3 separate regions of the Homo sapiens genome follow, and all the other regions are linked to region 3. The links are contacts of gene promoters, found by promoter capture Hi-C in blood cells and fetal thymus (Javierre and others, 2016). All regions are on one chromosome and are shown on one strand. Each heading gives the region's core, a stretch centred on a gene start or on the middle of the fragment in contact. The rest is flanking DNA. Distances are from core to core; before and after follow the strand shown. Region 1 holds the start of RWDD1 (RWD domain containing 1). Region 2 holds the start of ZUP1 (zinc finger containing ubiquitin peptidase 1). Region 3 holds the start of NUS1 (NUS1 dehydrodolichyl diphosphate synthase subunit).

The links. The method cuts DNA at HindIII sites, captures the fragments that hold promoters and counts their contacts. A CHiCAGO score of 5 or more calls a contact.
Region 1: the fragment with the promoter of RWDD1 here is called in contact with the fragment with the promoter of NUS1 in region 3 in 5 of 17 cell types (total CD4 T cells, non-activated CD4 T cells, naive CD8 T cells and 2 more); the score reaches 10.0 in total CD4 T cells.
Region 2: the fragment with the promoter of ZUP1 here is called in contact with the fragment with the promoter of NUS1 in region 3 in 8 of 17 cell types (total CD8 T cells, total CD4 T cells, monocytes and 5 more); the score reaches 10.5 in total CD8 T cells.

The regions. Positions count from the first base shown.
Region 1 is chr6:116,570,135-116,572,834 of GRCh38, forward strand. It overlaps RWDD1 (RWD domain containing 1), which reads left to right and starts at 1,370. Exons shown (of 7, transcript NM_015952.4): 1 at 1,370-1,521. The coding sequence starts at 1,449. RefSeq lists enhancers at 765-944, 975-1,304, 1,525-1,624 and a silencer at 1,345-1,424. The HindIII fragment of the contact is 4,586 bases long and covers 1-2,700 here.
Region 2 is chr6:116,667,503-116,670,202 of GRCh38, forward strand. It overlaps ZUP1 (zinc finger containing ubiquitin peptidase 1), which reads right to left and starts at 1,264. Exons shown (of 10, transcript NM_145062.3): 1 at 1,064-1,264. RefSeq lists a silencer at 188-337 and an enhancer at 1,099-1,288. The HindIII fragment of the contact is 3,066 bases long and covers 1,020-2,700 here.
Region 3 is chr6:117,674,177-117,676,898 of GRCh38, forward strand. NUS1 (NUS1 dehydrodolichyl diphosphate synthase subunit) reads left to right here and starts at 1,293. Exons shown (of 5, transcript NM_138459.5): 1 at 1,293-1,909. The coding sequence starts at 1,495. LOC101927919 (a long non-coding RNA gene) reads right to left here and starts at 1,108. Exons shown (of 3, transcript NR_110854.1): 1 at 921-1,108; 2 at 471-659. The HindIII fragment of the contact is 6,476 bases long and covers 1-2,722 here.

The DNA.
Region 1 (2,700 bases), core at 120-2,619, 1.1 Mb before region 3:
TAGGAGACTCCACTTTTTCATTAAAGTTTAAAAGAACGCCTGAAATCAACCCTTAATACCGTAAACACGGAATCAGTATCAAAGTGTTCCTCTGCTATAGGTAAGCAGCACTCCTCAATAAAAGATCAAGGTGCCTTCTGGTGCTTCAGGGGCTTCATCATTAGGAATCTTTCATTTAAAAAGTGTTCCTCCCACTATACCAGTGAAACCAGCTTTAATACAGAGAAATCAAAACAAAGAAAAATACAGAAAAGTGGGCAACAGCTTTTGAGTATTTTCTTAAAATTTTCCATTTTTCGACTTAGCGCAATAATATAATAAAGGAACATGGGATCCTTTATTATTGTTACCATAGTTTTTAATATCATTTTCATAAAGCTAACCATGTTTATTTAGCCATTTTCTTAGCTTTTGCCATCATGGTTCTTTGAAAATTTTCTTTGTAATTGCTGCAATGATTTTGGAGATCACAGATGCATGCTACTTGCTCAAGTTTATTCTTGGAAGTCGTATTACCAAATTAAAGGTTCTCAACATTTCTCGGGGTACTGCAATTTTTACATTGCATATGATAATTGTTATTACTGAGATCTACATTCCTTTCATCAATTCACAAATACACAATCACAGACATCTTGAGATCTATCATACGTCCAGCTGCGTTCATTTCACAAAATCAGAAGTTAAGCCTAAAGATCTGAACCGAGAAGCCGGACCTCCGGTCTATTTCTCCCTCCTGGATCCACCCCGACTTATTAAGCAGTTAGACCGACCCTTCCATACTCATTCAAGGCAGTGCAGAGCTTTTGCTCCCCTGCCCAGTGGAATCTACACTGGTCCCAGCCTCTCGTCCAACTCCCGTAGGACGCCAAGCAATACGGAGTTCGAGAAGCTCAGAAATCTCCTGAGCCCCACCAGTCCACACTAGGTTGCAAGCCCGCAGCACCTACGCCACGGCGTCAAACCGGAAACCAGAAAAGGTGAAGGCATCGGACGCCCCTCGCCCCAGCCCGGCCACCAGCGACACTATCCTTCACTGACGCGCGATGCCGGCCTTTCAGCCCAGACTCATCGAGCGAGGATGCAGCGCTGAGAGGCTTCTAAGGCTCAGGCCCTGCAAAGCCCAGGAGCCGGCTGTAGGTGTCCTTGGCGAATGCCAGACCGCGCGCACCGTCCCAGCAAGTCCCGAGCGAGTGTGGGACAGGCAGCAAATCAGTGCCCCCTGGCCAGGCAGAACGAGTCGAACGTGGAAGTAGGGAGCAGGCGGAGGCCGGCGCGGAGCTGCAGTTAAGCAAGCCGGGTCTGGCTTTGGGCCCTGGGCCTTCCAGCCGGGGACTCTGCGCCTGCGCCCGCCTGGCCGCCGCCCGCTCTCCCGGCGCGGCAGCTGTCTGGGCTGCTGCGCGCCGCCTAGGTGTCTGGGCGATCTATGGGCAAGAGCAAGGGCCACGATGACAGATTACGGCGAGGAGCAGCGCAACGAGCTGGAGGCCCTGGAGTCCATCTACCCTGACTCCTTCACAGGTGACTCCCGCGGCCGCAAGCCTGTAGCCGCCCCGAGGTGGAGTAGGACGGGCAGGAGCTGCCGCAGCTCTGGGCCTCATAGGTTGGGGTGGAGAAGGGGACCTTGAGGCCGCGCGGCCACCTTGCCCTCCACTCCTCAAGTTCTTCAGTCACTTACCAGCAACCCAGTGACTTTTTCTCCTTCTCTGCTTGTTCCCGGAAATCTAAAAGTCCGGGTGATGTTGGAGGGTGTCAGGCCTGAAAATTGAGTCGGGATTACTTTGGTTTCTGTGTAACCTACAGCAACCTGAGATTTATAATACATTAAGAGAAAAAATACTCCAAGTGCGATTCGTTTTTCCACAGCCGCAAGAATGTTAGTTTTCACATTTTTAGCTTTATTAAGGTAGAAACTGTTTTTCATACGATGCTGTTTTAGTTTATAGGATTCAGAGTGCTGTTTTCAGTTACTCAAATCGGTTTTGAGAGTAGCATAGTCCCTGAAGTCTGTCGGGTTTCTTTTCTTATGAAAAAAAAAAAAATCTGGCATTCAGCAGAATGCCTAATGGATAATGTGGCCCAAATTTCCGTTCTGCTATAAATTCATAGGTTGTTAGATTGGAAGGGAGATTAAACATCATCTATCCTGGGGCTCCTGCTCCAAGCCAAGGTCATGGGGGTTCAGGAAAGCTAAGTGGCTTGCTCTGTACTGTCCGCCAGCGAGTTAGCGGCAGGGCTGGTACTGAGTTATACGTCCAGAACGCTTGCCTGTTCTTTCACTTTCCAGACATATGGGACTTGGGATTCAGCTCCAGCTGAGATTGAGAGAGCAGAAGATTACTTGGTAGGTTGGGCTAATGTAAAATATTATAATGAGAAGTTCATTAGGTATAATTTAGAGGACGAGATTTCTCTATTAAGCCATGCTTCGGATGATTATAAAAATGCTACATAACTATATCAATATGGCTCCTCTGAGATTTGAGAAGCGGTCAAATAAAGCCAATATGAGTGAGTAGAACCTAGGTGTGTGCATTTACATTCCCCATCCTTTCCTTTGAGTGTTGCCTATCGTTGATAGTCAGAATTTATAGTGTAAGGTATATTACTTTAACTTATAAATTCCAACCCCTCTCCCTTTCATTGTTTAGCTTAGTTTTCTTGGCTTCACCTTTTGACCACTGCTTGCAATGGTAGCAA
Region 2 (2,700 bases), core at 14-2,513, 1.0 Mb before region 3:
TAAGATAAATCAGGTAAGAAAAAAATGAAGAGAAGAAACCTATTTATCAACTGATATATCTAAATACTGAATACTGAAGCTGATTATATTGAGGAGGTAAATAAACACATCTTACAAGTAGAGTTTAACACTGTAAACTTAGAGTCTTACATGTATCAAGTGCTATTTAAGTGCTATTATTGTAATTTAAGTACTATTATTATCGCTCTACACATAAAGAAATTCTGGCTCAGACAGGTCACCACAAGCAGAAAAAGGTGGAAGCCAAAATGCCAACCCCGTCGTGCTCCACAGCCTGTACTCTCAGCCCCAAGAATAAAAGCAGAAGTGGTATAGTAGAAAAAAGCACTTATTCCAGAGTCAAGAGAACTGGGTAATAATTTCAGATTCATCATTTTGGGTAAGGAATCTCATCTCTCTGAGGTTCAGTCAAAGACTACTGTAAAATCCAAAGGTAGTTATTTTTGGATTTTATGGACAAATAAAGTACTGACTACTGACATAAAAGTGTTAAAAAAATAATTTTAAAAAAAGCAATCACTTCGCCACCACCTTCCTACTACAGGTCATCGTTCAGCTAAAGACTATTTAAAATCAAACAGGAAAAGTAATGACACTATCACTTCATTTAAATAAATTTACCTTTAAAATACCTCCCTACATTGTCCTTATTTTTTTCATTTCTCTCCAGACAAATGGATACAGTCTCTGATTTTAGAAGGCAGTTCTCCCGAGCCCCCAGTGGGATTAATGTCACACCCGGAGTTTCTTCTCTTCCGGTGGCTGGGACACGGTCAGACACAGAATGATGAACTTGGACATGGACTCAGATTAAGCGGGTAAGAGACAAGAGAGTACCCAGGTGCCTCAGAGGAAGCGAGTGAGAGGCATGAAGGACCCAGTGCCAAGCTAGGTACGTGGTGGGTGAGGTCAGAAGACCGCAAGGCCGAGTCTCCCAAACGTTCCGCGCCAAAGGCACAAGCCAGGCACACGAAACTAGCAGGCACTAACTGGGTCAAAGCTTTGGGCCTGGGGAATAAGGGAGGGGACCATCAATTCTTACCGGCCCAGAGGCCAGCAGCTGCCACACTGAGCTCCGCTAGGCTTCCCCTTTGGGCCTCGCTGGCAGACGAGTGCGTGCGCGGCGTCCAGTACCTCTCCTGGCCTGATGACTGAGGCCAGGCCTTCCCAATACGCAGAGTTTCACAGTTAACCGAGGAAAGAATTAGGAACTTCCAACACCTTGGCCCTCAGTACCTCATTCAAAAGCACTTCCTTACTCCCACGGAAAAGAAGTAATCCCAGAATGCGCCGCTCCACGCCGGTCTCTATGCAGTGCATTCTGGGAGATGTAGTCTTTTTTTTTTTTTTTTTTTTTTGAGACGGAGTCTCGCTCTGCTGCCCAGGCTGGAGGGCAGTGCGCGATCTCGGCTCACTGCAAGCTCCGCCTCCCGGGTTCACGCCATTCTCCTGCCTCAGCCTCCCGAGTAGCTGGGACTACAGGCGCCCGCCACCATGCCTGGCTAATTTTTTGTATTTTTAGTAGAGACGGGGTTTCACCGTGTTAGCCAGGATGGTCTCGATCTCCTGAGAGATGTAGTCATTTTTGCATTCCTCCCATTTCCGAGTTTTTCCTTCTCCCATCGAGTTTCCTGCCACTCAATTGCTAGGAGAGAAAACCGGGCTCTGAGGTCATTCATACTTAATCTGAATGAGTTCACAGGGCAGGTCCTGGGGCAAATAGCAGTCTACACTAGGGCCTGCTGAGTAGCACTCTATTTTAGTATCAATAAAGGGTTTATAATGCTGCTAGGTATCAAGCTCCCAGCTATGCACCGAAGGTAAAGGATACCAGGTTCTTTCCTCAAGGTTACAAGATAACAAATATCTTGGTTTGTATGTATGTATGTATGTATATATATATATTTTTTGAGACGGAGTCTTGCTCTGTCGCCCAGGCTGGAGTGCAGTGGTGCCATCTCTGCTCACTGCAAGCTCCGCCTCCCGGGTTCACGCCATTCTCCTGCCTCAGCCTCCCAAGTAGCTGGGACTACAGGCGCCCGCCACCACGTCTGACTAATTTTTTGTATTTTTAGTAGAGATGGGGTTTCACCGTGTTATCCCGGATGGTCTCGATCTCCTGACCTCGTGATCCGCCCCCCTCGGCCTCCCAAAGTGCTGGGATTACAAGCGTGAGCCACCGTGCCCGGCCGTATGTATGTATTTTTAGAGAGGAGGACTCTTTCTGTCACCCAGGCCAGAGCACAGTGGCTAAAATAGCTCACCGCAGCCTCGAACTCCTGGCCTCAAATGATCCTCCCATCTCGGCCTCCCAAAGTGTGAGCCACCATGTTAGCCCAAAATCACAAATATCTTGTCATTCAGGCTTTATTTCATTCAACAAATATTTAAAGAGTGTCTATTAGAAAGGCGTTTTGCTTGCAACAGGAGCTGCAGCAGTAATCAAAATACACAAAATTCAGGATTTTTGAGGCTTACATGCTGGTGAGGTAGAGGAAATAAAAAGTAAATTAACTGATCATGATAAGTGCTATGAAGAAAATAAAACTGGATTGGCCAGGCTCAGTGGCTCACATATGTAATCCCAGCACTTTGGGAGGCCGAGGCGGGCAGATCATTTGAGGTCAGGAGTTCAAGACCAGCCTGGCCAACATGGTGAAAGCCCGTCTCTACTAGAAA
Region 3 (2,722 bases), core at 43-2,542:
GGGAGATGGACATGAGATTCAACTTTTAAAGTAAAGTTAAATGAGTCTTAGAAACCAAAATGAGACTAGTTGAAAAAGTGACAATGTTAGAAAAATTAAGTCACATAGCCAAGACGTGAACAGATGTTTCCCAGGGGGAAAAAGAGGCTTTAGCGAACAAAGAATAGGTAGGTATTACAAAAACGCAACTGTTTACACACACACACGTGTGTAAATATGTGTGTATACGTGTGTATGTGTACAGTTGCATTTTTGTAATACCTCCCTAATCTTTATATATATACTTATATAAATATAAATGCAAATAATATAAATATTATTGTTGCACACACACATATATATGATGATAGAGGATGTAGCATGTAGGATAAACCTTGAGAAATGGGTTGGAATGTCGGCAATACCAAGTCGGGAATCAGGAATTCAGGAGAAGAGCTTGAACAAAAAGGGCAAAGACAGTACAGACTTACCGCGGGGAAGTACAAAACCATTCTAGAGGACCACGTCGAAGTCCACATGGACAGAAACATTAGGGTGTTAAAGGGGATGATAAGGCTTGGATGGGCAGTTTGCTTCAAATAGTGGCGGTCATTGAAGTCAGGCACAATTTCTATTTTTTTTCCCCACTGTAAACCTAACCCACGGCGGTTGGTCAAAGTCTTGCCGAATAAAAAAAAAAAAAAAAAAAAAGAATTAAGTGACTGGACTGCCAAGCTGTAGAGCCTCTATTAAGCAATGTACAGCCAGGAAAGGATACCTTAGATGAGAATGACATGGGTAGAGGGGTGTTTCAGGAACATGGCTAAAGAGCCTCGCTCCCAGCCTCAGCCGGGAGGCTGAATAAAGGACAGTAGCAGGATCACTCCAGCCTTTGAGGACACTTTTGGAAACCCTGGTGGATTCCCAGCATCAACACTTACTGAGGGCTGCTTTCCATCCCTAGGTTCTTTCCGGCATTTGTAATTTCCAATCCACTTAGGACACTTCTACTCCTCAGAAACCGTTTCTGTCGGGGCCGTGAGAGGAGACAGTATAAGACTTCCTGGACCCAAGGGACGCCGGGTCCCCTGGAAGCGCCCATCGCATTGAAGACCACGTGTGCCTTGCTGGGGTCCCATTCAGACAAGTCCCGGGTCGTTCGCTCATCGCCCTCCACGCGACCAGGGGGCGCCCGCGGTATCGGCCCGGCTAGTTCGCAGGCGTGCGCCTTCCCTCACTGCGCCGGAACGGGCCACGTTCTCGGACCCAGAAGCCGCGTCAGAATTCCACGCTGGCCAATCGGAACTGTCCATGTACTACTGGGGGCGGGGCTGCCAAGGGAGGAGGAAGATGGCGGCGGGGGCGAGGTGAGGTGTTGGCAGTGGAAAGGGGTTCGGGCTCGGGGGGCGGGGGGACGCGGAGCGATGGCCCGCGCCGGCCGCAGGGGCGGATAAAAAGCCGTCGCGCTGCGGGAGTGGGCGGGAGGGAGAGGGGGTGTCTGAGGGCCACAAGAGTATGACGGGGCTGTACGAGCTGGTGTGGCGGGTGCTGCACGCGCTGCTCTGTCTGCACCGCACGCTCACCTCCTGGCTCCGCGTTCGGTTCGGCACCTGGAACTGGATCTGGCGGCGCTGCTGCCGCGCCGCCTCTGCCGCGGTCCTAGCGCCGCTCGGCTTCACGCTCCGCAAGCCCCCGGCAGTCGGCAGGAACCGCCGTCACCACCGGCACCCGCGCGGGGGGTCGTGCCTGGCAGCCGCACACCACCGGATGCGCTGGCGCGCGGACGGTCGTTCCTTGGAGAAGCTGCCTGTGCATATGGGCCTGGTGATCACCGAGGTGGAGCAGGAACCCAGCTTCTCGGACATCGCGAGCCTCGTGGTGTGGTGTATGGCCGTGGGCATCTCCTACATTAGCGTCTACGACCACCAAGGTGAGGCCCGGTGCGGTGGTGGGGGGTGGCCGAGGCGTCTTGGACCGCTAGACCGCTGGTCTGGCGGGTGGTGCCCATGGCACGAGTTGCCGCGGCCTCTCTGCAAATCACAGCGCTAGCGCTTTCGAGGAAGGGAGATCAGCTTTATTGAACACCTACTAATTCTCTGGATTTGACTCAGTAGCTTTTTAACATTTTAAAAATATCCCTTGGCCGGGCGCGGTGGCTCATGCCTGTAATCCCAGCACTTTGGGAGGCCGAGGCGGACGGATCACCTGAGGTCGGGAGTTCGAGACCAGCCTGACTAACATGGAGAAACCCCGTTTCTACTAAAAATACAAGTTTAGTCGGGCGTGGTGGCATATGCCTGTAATCCCAGCTACTAGGGAGGCTGAGGCAGGAGAATCGCTGGAACCCGGGAGGCGGAGGTTGTGGTGAGCCGAGATCGCGCCACTGCACTCCAGCCTGGGCAACAAGAGCGAAACTCTGTCTCAAATAAGTAAATAAATAAATAAAAATAAATAAAAAATCTCTTATTCGTTATAATACTGCAGTAATGTAGATGGTATTTGTATACCCTTGCCAAGGTTTAAAAACATTAACTGATTTGCCCAAGGCCACAAGATCGTAATGGGGCCACAAAGATCGGAATGAGGATATTGGAATTTTAGCCATTCTGTGCTTTTTCACAATCTTTGCCTTTGGTTACACCACACTGTTTCTTTAAGAGAGCTTCCAGGCGCTGTTCTTAAGTCGCAGTGAGGCTATAGAGGACTTAGGCATGGGCTGTGTGATAGGTACTGCAAATGGGAG